Linked DNA regions of Homo sapiens: region 1 is linked to region 2. Evidence: promoter capture Hi-C in 16 types of primary human blood cells and fetal thymus (Javierre and others, 2016). All regions are on one chromosome and are shown on one strand. Each heading gives the region's core, a stretch centred on a gene start or on the middle of the fragment in contact. The rest is flanking DNA. Distances are from core to core; before and after follow the strand shown. Region 1 overlaps TATDN2 (TatD DNase domain containing 2). Region 2 holds the start of IL17RC (interleukin 17 receptor C).

The links. The method cuts DNA at HindIII sites, captures the fragments that hold promoters and counts their contacts. A CHiCAGO score of 5 or more calls a contact.
Region 1: a contact is called between a fragment that was not itself captured here and the fragment with the promoter of IL17RC in region 2, in 7 of 17 cell types (naive CD4 T cells, activated CD4 T cells, non-activated CD4 T cells and 4 more). The highest score is 8.1, in naive CD4 T cells.

The regions. Positions count from the first base shown.
Region 1 is chr3:10,259,819-10,264,661 of GRCh38, forward strand. TATDN2 (TatD DNase domain containing 2) reads left to right here. Exons shown (of 8, transcript NM_014760.4): 3 at 319-852. Among named protein-coding and RNA genes, the nearest start is that of TATDN2, 14 kb to the left of the region's middle. RefSeq lists a silencer at 4,117-4,306. The HindIII fragment of the contact is 1,770 bases long and covers 861-2,630 here.
Region 2 is chr3:9,915,848-9,920,469 of GRCh38, forward strand. It overlaps IL17RC (interleukin 17 receptor C), which reads left to right and starts at 1,251. Exons shown (of 19, transcript NM_153460.4): 1 at 1,251-1,573; 2 at 1,866-1,887; 3 at 2,076-2,228; 4 at 2,488-2,562; 5 at 2,653-2,762. The coding sequence starts at 1,469. IL17RE (interleukin 17 receptor E) reads left to right here. Exons shown (of 16, transcript NM_153480.2): 16 at 1-550. It also overlaps the pseudogene RNU6-882P. RefSeq lists enhancers at 504-1,043, 973-1,162. The HindIII fragment of the contact is 19,830 bases long and covers 1-4,622 here.

The DNA.
Region 1 (4,843 bases), core at 496-2,995, 340 kb after region 2:
CTGCTGTTTTGCCTGAAGTGTAGTCCTTGCCTTCCAGGAGCTTGCAGTCTGGTTTAATGAGAGTGTTCATTTCAGCTCCTTCCGTCCCCTTGCAGTGAAAGGATATCATCTGCTGAGCATGAGAAGGCGAATGCTAAGAAATGGCAGCAATCAGCCCCTCTTACAGTGCCACTTCACCACCCGGAGAGAACCTTTGCCTTAGCCACAGTCACTTTCCCTTTGACTGGTAGAACCACCACTGATTTATAATTTGCCAAATGCTTCATGTACGAAAGTGCCCTTGGAACAGCCCTTTCAATTCTGTTTTTTTTTTCCCAGGTTGATTCCAAAGATAGTTCTCATAACTCCACAAACTCTGAATTTGCAGCTGAAGCTGAGGGTCAGAATGATACAATTGAGGAACCCAACAAGGTCCAGAAAAGGAAGAGGGATAGACTTCGAGACCAGGGCTCCACAATGATCTACCTGAAGGCTATCCAGGGCATCCTGGGGAAATCGATGCCAAAAAGGAAGGGAGAGGCTGCCACTCGGGCAAAACCAAGCGCAGCAGAGCATCCCAGCCATGGAGAAGGACCAGCCAGGAGTGAAGGACCAGCCAAGACTGCAGAAGGAGCAGCCAGGAGTGTCACAGTCACTGCTGCTCAGAAGGAGAAAGACGCAACCCCAGAGGTCAGCATGGAGGAGGATAAGACAGTGCCAGAGAGGAGCAGCTTCTATGACAGGAGAGTAGTTATAGACCCTCAAGAGAAACCCAGTGAGGAGCCCCTTGGGGACCGAAGGACTGTCATTGACAAATGCTCTCCACCCCTAGAGTTCTTGGATGACTCTGACTCTCATTTAGAAATCCAAAAGGTGAGTAAAGCTTGTACCAGGCATCTGACTTTTTAGTTCTGTTGATGAAATGTGTTCCATCTTTCTAGTTTGATCCTAAGTGTTACTAATTAAAAATAGTACTTTACTTAACCAGGCCTCCAGGGAACAAACTGATGGTTTTCTTCTAACATACTTTTCAGATTTTCAGAGTTATTAATAAACCTAAACTAAGTGCTTTTTTTTTTTTTTGAAGGATTTATATGTTAGGATATGGGTTTAGCTGCTGTGTAAAAGGCCAAAATCACAGTGGCTTAAACAGAATATAAGTTTGGCTTAAGAAGGATGGCTCCATCATGTCAGAGATACTGGTACCTTTTGTCTTGATTCTCTATCACCCCTCAACACAGTGTCCATCTCTTGGTGTGAAATGGATACTCTGATAGGACTCAGGGTTTGTTATCTGGGCATTCTGGCCAGTGGGAAGGGGAGAAGAGGAGAGTGCATTCCTTCCCTGTTAAGAGCTTGGCTCAAGAGTTGCACATGTTGTATCTGCTGTTGACAAGAGCGGGGAAACCCGGCTGACACCTGGCTGCAAGGGAGTCTGGAAAATCAGCCTTTATCTAGGCAGACTTGTACCTGGATAACCAGAGAAGAAGGGAAGGATGTCATTGGACGGAAACTAGTGATTTTTAACATAGCTTATAATTGAGGGGAAGCATTCCTCCATCTTTTTCTTTTTTTTTTTTTTTTTGTTGTTGGGACAGAGTCTTGCTCTGTTGCCCAGGCTGGAGTGCGATGGTGCAATCTTGGCTCACTGCAACCTCCACCTCCTGGGTTCAAGCAATTCTCCTGCCTCAGCCTCCTGAGTAGCTGGGATTACAGGTGTGCGCCACCAAACCGGCTAATTTTTGTATTTTTAGTAGATATGGGATTTCTCCATGTTGGCCAGGCTGGTCTCGAACTCCTGACCTCGTGATCCACCTGCCTTGGCCTCCCAAAGTGCCGGGATTACAGGCATGAGCCACTGTGCCAGGCCACATTCCTCCATCTTACTCGTCTCCACCCATCCTTTACTACTGCTCTGCAGGCAGCTTCTCTCATCTTTAGCTCTTTCTTCTAGTACTTACCCCATGTTTCTAAATAATCTTTACTGTTGATCAGTTTTTCAGTTTTAGATGTCTGAGGACTTCTTGCTTGGGCGATGAGAATTTAGTTCTCTATACCTCCTTCAGAAGCACCCACACCCAGGGACACATTAGCTTCCCCTTTCTGCAGCCTCCCTGTGTGGCTTGAATACCTTTTGGGTTAAGTCTGTGTAAGATTTGTTACTGCCATGTTCACAGCTGAGTCGCCTTGTATACTCTGATCACATTTTCTTTCTTGTAAAACTTCATTTTCCTTAAAGTTCATCATTACTTTGTTTTTCCTTTGGTTTTCCTGGTACCTTTCACTAATTAATCCCCAAACTGCGAGAGCTGTAAAATCCTTCTCAATACTGTCAAAATAAGGAATCTGTTTCTTTTTTTTCTCTCTTGGAGGTATACGTCCTCAGCCCTCTGTTGTCCTGCTCTGGTCTGGACTGCCTGCCGTCAGGCCAGCTGGCAGCTGTCTCTCTGGAGCCTCCTTCACATTTCTCCCGGATTGAGTCTTCTGCTACCTATACTCTGTGTCTTCTCATGTTCTTCTTCCTTGGTTTACTCTCACATTTTGGTGGAATACTTTTTCTAGTAGCTTCTTGAGAAAGGGTACATGGAGAAACTTTTTTTGGTAAACATGTGTCTGAGATTGCCTTTATTTTACCTTTAACCTTGATTACAAGCTTGGTTGGTTTTGGAATTCCAGGTTGGAAATTGTTTTGTTTGGGATTTTGAAGGCATTGCTCCTTTTCTTCTGGGCTTTTTTTTTTTTTTTTTTTTTTTTGAGGTGGAGTCTCGTTCTGTCTTGCCCAGGCTGGAGTGCACTGGTGTGATCTTGGCTCACTGCAGCCTCCACTTCCTGGGTTCAAGTGATTCTCCTGTCTCAGCCTCCCGAGTAGCTGGGATTACAGGCACACGCCACCACACCTGGCTAATTTTGTATTTTTGGTAGAGACAGAGTTTCATCATGTTGGCCAGGCTGGTCTCAAACTTCTGACCTGAGGTGATCCACCTGCCTAGGCTTCCCAAAGTACTGAGATTACAGGTGTAAGCCACTTCGCCTGGCCTCTTCTGGTTTTCTTGATGTCTGAAGCTATGCTGGTTCCTGAACCTTGGTATATGATTTTTTATTTTTTATTTTCTTTTGCTTTGAGACAGAGTTTTGCTCTGTCACCCAGGTTGGAGTCCAGTGGCGTGATCTCAGCTCACTGCAATCTTCACCTCCCAGGTTCAAGCGATTCTCCTGCCTCAGCCTTGTGAGTAGCTGGGATTACAGGCATGTGCCACCACACCCGGCTAATTTTTGTATTTTTAGTAGAGATGGGGTTTCACCATTTTGGTGAGGCTGGTGTCGAACTCCTGACCTCATGATCCGCCCGGCTCAGCCTCCCAAAGTGCTGGGATTACAGGTGTGAGCCACCGTGCCCAACCTGTATTTTTTTTTTTTTTCCCTCTGTGGAATCTTGTAGAATATATTTTGATCTCAGGGCTCTGAAATTTCATGGTGGTGGTGTCTACTTTGCTTAGCATGGGACATTCCCTTTCAATCTAGAAACCCTTGTACTTTAGCTGTGGGAAAAGTTCGTGAATTACTGTACTTCGCTGATGTTTTCTTTCCGTATTTTTCTTCTCTCTTTCTCTCTCTAGCTTCTCTACCTTCTTTCTCTTATTTGGATGTTGGATTTTTCAGGACTGGTCCTGTAATTTTATTGCCTTTCTCCCTTGTTTCTAGCCAATTTCTTGCTTTACTTTGTAGGATATTTCCTTTTCTTTATCTTCCAACCCAGCTGTTTATTTAGTTTTACTTTTCTACTGTCATGCTTTTTATTATCCAAGAGCTCTTTTGTTTTTTAATAACATCTCTGTTCTTGTTTCATCTTCTGTTATCTCTTTTAGGGAGTTCATGGTAGTTTTTTGGCTTGGTTTTAGTTTTCTTTAAGTTGCTTCTTTCCGTTTCTTTTGATCTCTTCTGTGTTAGAGGCTGCCTTCACATGTCTGGTAATCTTTGGTTGTCTGTTTATGATCAAGAATGGGAGGATTAAAAAGCTGTTTGGAAGCTCTGAGCGTAAAGACTTTGAGCTTTGCTTTGGGATGATCGGGAGAATATAACCCTCTTCCCCTTGCCATGTCACTGCTTTTAGGAAAGCCTCGAGACTGGTCACCTTGCCCAGAGGAGTGTTTTTCAGCCTGCTTAGGAGGAAAGGTGGCTGGGAGCTGGGTAGCGAAAGGGGCGGCTGCGGGGGCGGCGTCAGCATTCACTTAATCTTTGTCTTTTTGGTGCAGTACCAGTGCCCTCCACTGAGCTGACCAGGCCTTATTCTAGAGATCCTCTTGTTTTACTGTCTTCAAACAACTCACCTTCTCTGAGTATGAGGAGGGAATCTGGGATCTAACTCATTGGAAACCAGATTTCACCCTGTCCTCCTCCTTTTAATGTTCTTCTGTAACTCCAGTTCCTCCAGTTCCCAAGGTGCCCAGTACCGCGAGTGCCTGCTCTGTTCTAAGCTTTCCTGGTGCCTAGCTTAGGTCTCAGCCTTCTCTTGGTCTGCCAGTGAGGTGTTATTTGGCCATCTGCTTTCTAGCCTCCAGTGCGTGATCACTGTAGTCTCTTGTTCTTCCTGTTCTGGTGTTTTTGTTATTGTAGAGGGGTTTTATTTGTTTTTTGTTTGGTTTTTAGATTCTTTAGTTTTAGTGAGGTTTCAGGAAAGAGTAAAATAAGTCGAATTTGTTCAGTACATCCTTAGCCTAGAAAAGTTCTGGGAAAATTTCTTGATTATTTGATTTCTTGTCTGTTTCTTCTTTTTCTGGACCATCTATTTTATGCTTGGTCTTTCGGATGGAAATTCCAATTTTCTTTTCTTCCCAGTGAATCCTTTTTAAAAAATTTTTCTGGA
Region 2 (4,622 bases), core at 1-2,500:
GCAACGGACACTGGCTGGAACCCCGGAATGAGCCTTCGACCCTGAAATCCTTGGGGTGCCTCGAGGACGACTGGCCGAAAAGCCGCATTCCCTGCCTCACAGGCCGGAAGTCCCAGCCCAGTCCCCGCGCGCGTCCCTCTTCCTCCTCATACTTTCCCTTGACTGAGAGCTCCTCTAACCCCTGTTCTGATGGGGGAGGGCGGTCTTCCCACTTCCTCTCCAGAACTCCAGAAAGAGCAGTGTGCTTATGCTTCAGTCCAGGCTGGAGAGGTTGGGGCCGGGGTAGGGAGGCAGGAGCCATGTCAGTTCTGAAGGAGGGTGAGGCGGTGGGGGATTGCAGGGGGCGGCTGAGAGAAAACCTCCTTGGGGGCCAGGGATTCCCTTTCCCACTCTGAGGCTCTGGCCAGAGGGAGAGAGGACTCTGGACCTAGGAAAAGAGGCTTTTGGCTCCAGGTGGTCAGGACAGTGGGGGTTGGGGGTGGGGTGGGTGGGTGCTGGCGGTGGGGACCAAGATCCGGAAAGATGAATAAAGACAAACATGACAAACTAAGAAAACACAGTGTGCTTCTCTAGTGTGGCTGGGGAGCCTGCCTGGTGGGGTATGTGTCAGTGTGCTGGCCCAAATCCTCTGTGTCCATACCGCATGGCATCCGTCACATTCTTACAAGCAATGCCTCCAAAAGCAAAGGAGGATGGGGCAATCTCCTTGATCCCCCCCAGTGATTCTTACAAGAGGAGAGGAAAACAGAGGCTTCGCCAGATGGTGTGTCCATCATCACACAGCCGGCCCACAGCAACAGCACAGATGGGACCCCTGTCTGCCAGGCTCTGGGGTCCTGGGTTCCTTCTACTCCCCATACCGCATTTGAGCCAGGCAGTGGTGAAAAGCCCACTTTCTGGTGCCTTTTGTCCGTGCTTTTAGAGCTCCTGTCCCACAAAGGGTTACCGAGGCCCAAAGAGTGTCTGAAGGGACCGAGTGTGCCTAGTAAGGGGAGACTTAGTGGGCCCAGGACTCCAGGGCTGTGTCCTCCTTAGGGCTCCGGGGGTGAGTAAGAGCTCCCTTACTCAGCCGTGATGCATTCGCTGTCTTCTTCAGGGGCCCCTCCCAGCCAGGTGTCAGCAGAGGGAGAGGAGAGCCAAAGAAGGAGGAGGTGCGGCCACCACCCTAGTCCAAGGCTGCTGGCTCCCAAGCCTGGTGTTGGTGGGAGGGACAGAGAGGGGCGGGAACAGCCAGCAGCCTGCCGGGAGCCAAAACGAAAGCACTCCGTGCTGGAAGTAGGAGGAGAGTCAGGACTCCCAGGACAGAGAGTGCACAAACTACCCAGCACAGCCCCCTCCGCCCCCTCTGGAGGCTGAAGAGGGATTCCAGCCCCTGCCACCCACAGACACGGGCTGACTGGGGTGTCTGCCCCCCTTGGGGGGGGGCAGCACAGGGCCTCAGGCCTGGGTGCCACCTGGCACCTAGAAGATGCCTGTGCCCTGGTTCTTGCTGTCCTTGGCACTGGGCCGAAGCCCAGTGGTCCTTTCTCTGGAGAGGCTTGTGGGGCCTCAGGACGCTACCCACTGCTCTCCGGTGAGTCTGGAACCCTGGGGAGACGAGGAAAGGCTCAGGGTTCAGTTTTTGGCTCAGCAAAGCCTTAGCCTGGCTCCTGTCACTGCTGCCACTGCCAGAACTGCCCTGTCTGGTCTGTCTGGTGCTGATGGTAGAAGAGAAGAACGGGGAAGGGGCAAGAGCTGGGTCTGTCTTTCTCTGGGAGGGTCTGGGAATACGGAGCCCCAGAAAAAGGTAGGTGGAGGTCTTAGGCAGAGAACAGTGCCTAGATGGTGGGGGCACAAATTCTGACTCTCCTTTCTTTCCTTCCCAGGGCCTCTCCTGCCGCCTCTGGGGTAAGTATCCCTACTTTTAAAAAGAATTTCCCAGGTTGGCCGAAGGGAGCAGAGCTGTCCCAGGCCCATGCCCTCCATGCCCACCTCAGCCTAGGACAGCCAAGTTCTTTGGCTCTCTGGGTATGTCAGGTGCCACCAAATTCTGGGCTTGGAACAGCTTCAGCTCCCACCCGCTCCTCCACACACAGACAGTGACATACTCTGCCTGCCTGGGGACATCGTGCCTGCTCCGGGCCCCGTGCTGGCGCCTACGCACCTGCAGACAGAGCTGGTGCTGAGGTGCCAGAAGGAGACCGACTGTGACCTCTGTCTGCGTGTGGCTGTCCACTTGGCCGTGCATGGTGAGCAAGTCATCCTGTGACAGTGCATGTGTACACGTGAGTGTGTCTGGGGTGGGCATGAGGGCCAGGGGATCTCTCAAGCAGTGCTAGGCATCCTCAGTGTTCTCCTGGAGGACACCAGCAGAAGGACCCCCAGGCCAGTGTGGTCTCCCCAGCCCCTGCTTCCCAGCACTGGGCTTTCCAGAAGGAAGCCAACGCCAAAGCCAGCCAGCCCAGAGCAGGGGGCCTCACCCAGGGCCTTGCTCTTGGGTCCTTCTAGGGCACTGGGAAGAGCCTGAAGATGAGGAAAAGTTTGGAGGAGCAGCTGACTCAGGGGTGGAGGAGCCTAGGAATGGTGAGGAGAACCTGGCTGGCCCAACTGCCCCATGCCAAGGCCTGGCCTGCCGCTCCTGGGCCTGACTGACCCCTGCCCTGTTGCCCACAGCCTCTCTCCAGGCCCAAGTCGTGCTCTCCTTCCAGGCCTACCCTACTGCCCGCTGCGTCCTGCTGGAGGTGCAAGTGCCTGCTGCCCTTGTGCAGTTTGGTCAGTCTGTGGTATGCAAAATAATAATAATCACCTTCTAAACCTAAAATCTATAAAACTTTTTCACATGCATTATCTCTTTGAGGATTACAAAAGAATTAAATTTATTGAAACCCTTCAGTACCAGGCATTACAGCCAGTGTTTTACAGGTATCAACTTATTTAATTCTCACAACAGCCATGTGAGGTGGGACTATTCTTTTGATTCTGATCAGCGCTGTGGGCAAGTCCCTTCAGCCTGTTATGCCTCAGCTTTTATGTCTGTAAAATGGGGATGAGAATAGTTCTACTTCATATGCTTGACTGCGAGAAATCACCAAGCGTTTTTCAGGGTGCTTCTACTATTTTCCCCTCCTACCAGCAGTGTATGGGAGTCCTAGTTGCTTCCCATCTTTGCCAACACTTGATGGTGTAATTTTATTTTATTTTTAAATTAAATATATTTGAATTTTAAATATATGGGACCCTCCATGAATTTGCATGTCATCCTCAGGCACGGGCCTTGCTAATCTTTTCTGTATTGTTCCAGTTGTAGTATATGTGGTGCCAAAACAAGCATAAGTGTTGTAATTGTCATAATTTTTCTGCATATGTAGTGGTTTGCCATTGTGGTTTTAATTTGTATCTTCCAATGACTGATGAAGTTGAGCACTTTTTTCACATGCTTATTGGCTATTTGTGTAACTTCCTTGTGAAATATCTCTTAAAGTTTTTTTGTTTTTGTTTTTGTTTTTGTTTTTGCCACATAAAAAAACAATAGTTCTGGCCGGGCACAGTGGTTCACACCTGTAATCCCAGCACTTTGGGAGGCTGAGGCGGGCAGATCACGAAGTCAGGAGATTGAGACCATCCTGGCTAACACTGTGAAACCCTGCCTCCACTAAAAAAATACAAAAAATTAGCCAGGCATGGTGGTGGGCGCCTGTAGACCCAGCTACTCGGGAGGCAGAGGCAGGAGAATGGCGTGAACCCGGGAGGTGGAGCTTGCAGTGAGCCGAGATCGCGCCACTGCACTCCAGCCTGGGCGACAGAGCGAGATTCCGTCTCAAAAAAAAAGAATAGTCCCACCTCACATGACTGTTGTGAGAATTAAATTAAGTTGGTACCTGTAAAACACTGGATGTAATGCCTGGCACTGAATAATTTCAATAAATTTAATTCTTTTGTAATCCTCAAAACTACCTGATGAGGCATTATTAGTATCCTCATTTTCCAGATAGATAAAATGAGGCTTGGAGAGGGGAGGTCTGTGGGCTGGATGCACTTCTCTGTACTCTTGGACCAAAGAAAGAGTCCTACCATACATACCATGGTATACTTACCATGGTGTAAGTACCATGGTGCAGGGTGTTGGGGCTTCTCCCTGCCTTAGGAGGCCACATGTACCTGGAAGGTCTATTTCCACTGGGGTCAAATCACTCAAACCCTTTGACTTTCCCTCCAACCTCCAGCCCCCAGCCAATATCCTATCTGGAGAATTGTAGACTGGGAGAACATCTGCTTGGTCCATGTCACAAGCAGTTGTAAGGAACACTGAGGCACTGGGTTGAGTGTGAGAACCACTTCTGTGGGGAGGGGTGTGCCATATTGTGTTGGGGTGTCTCATCTCCTTAGCTTTGGCCAGGTGATCTAGCACAGCAGGGTGGGTGCAGGGATTTAAATGTCTAGGGCCTTTTCCCGCCCTGGTGACACTCTTACTGAGGACATTTGCTTTAGAATTGAGGCCCCTTGAAAGAAAGGTGAATAGTAGATTTCAGGCTATACAGTATAAATACAGTCATTAGTTGGGGGAGGAGGGCAGTGAGCAGAGTGGTCCCTGCAGATGATCCCACAGCCCTTGGCCTGGATTCTGAGCCCTGCACCGCCAGCCT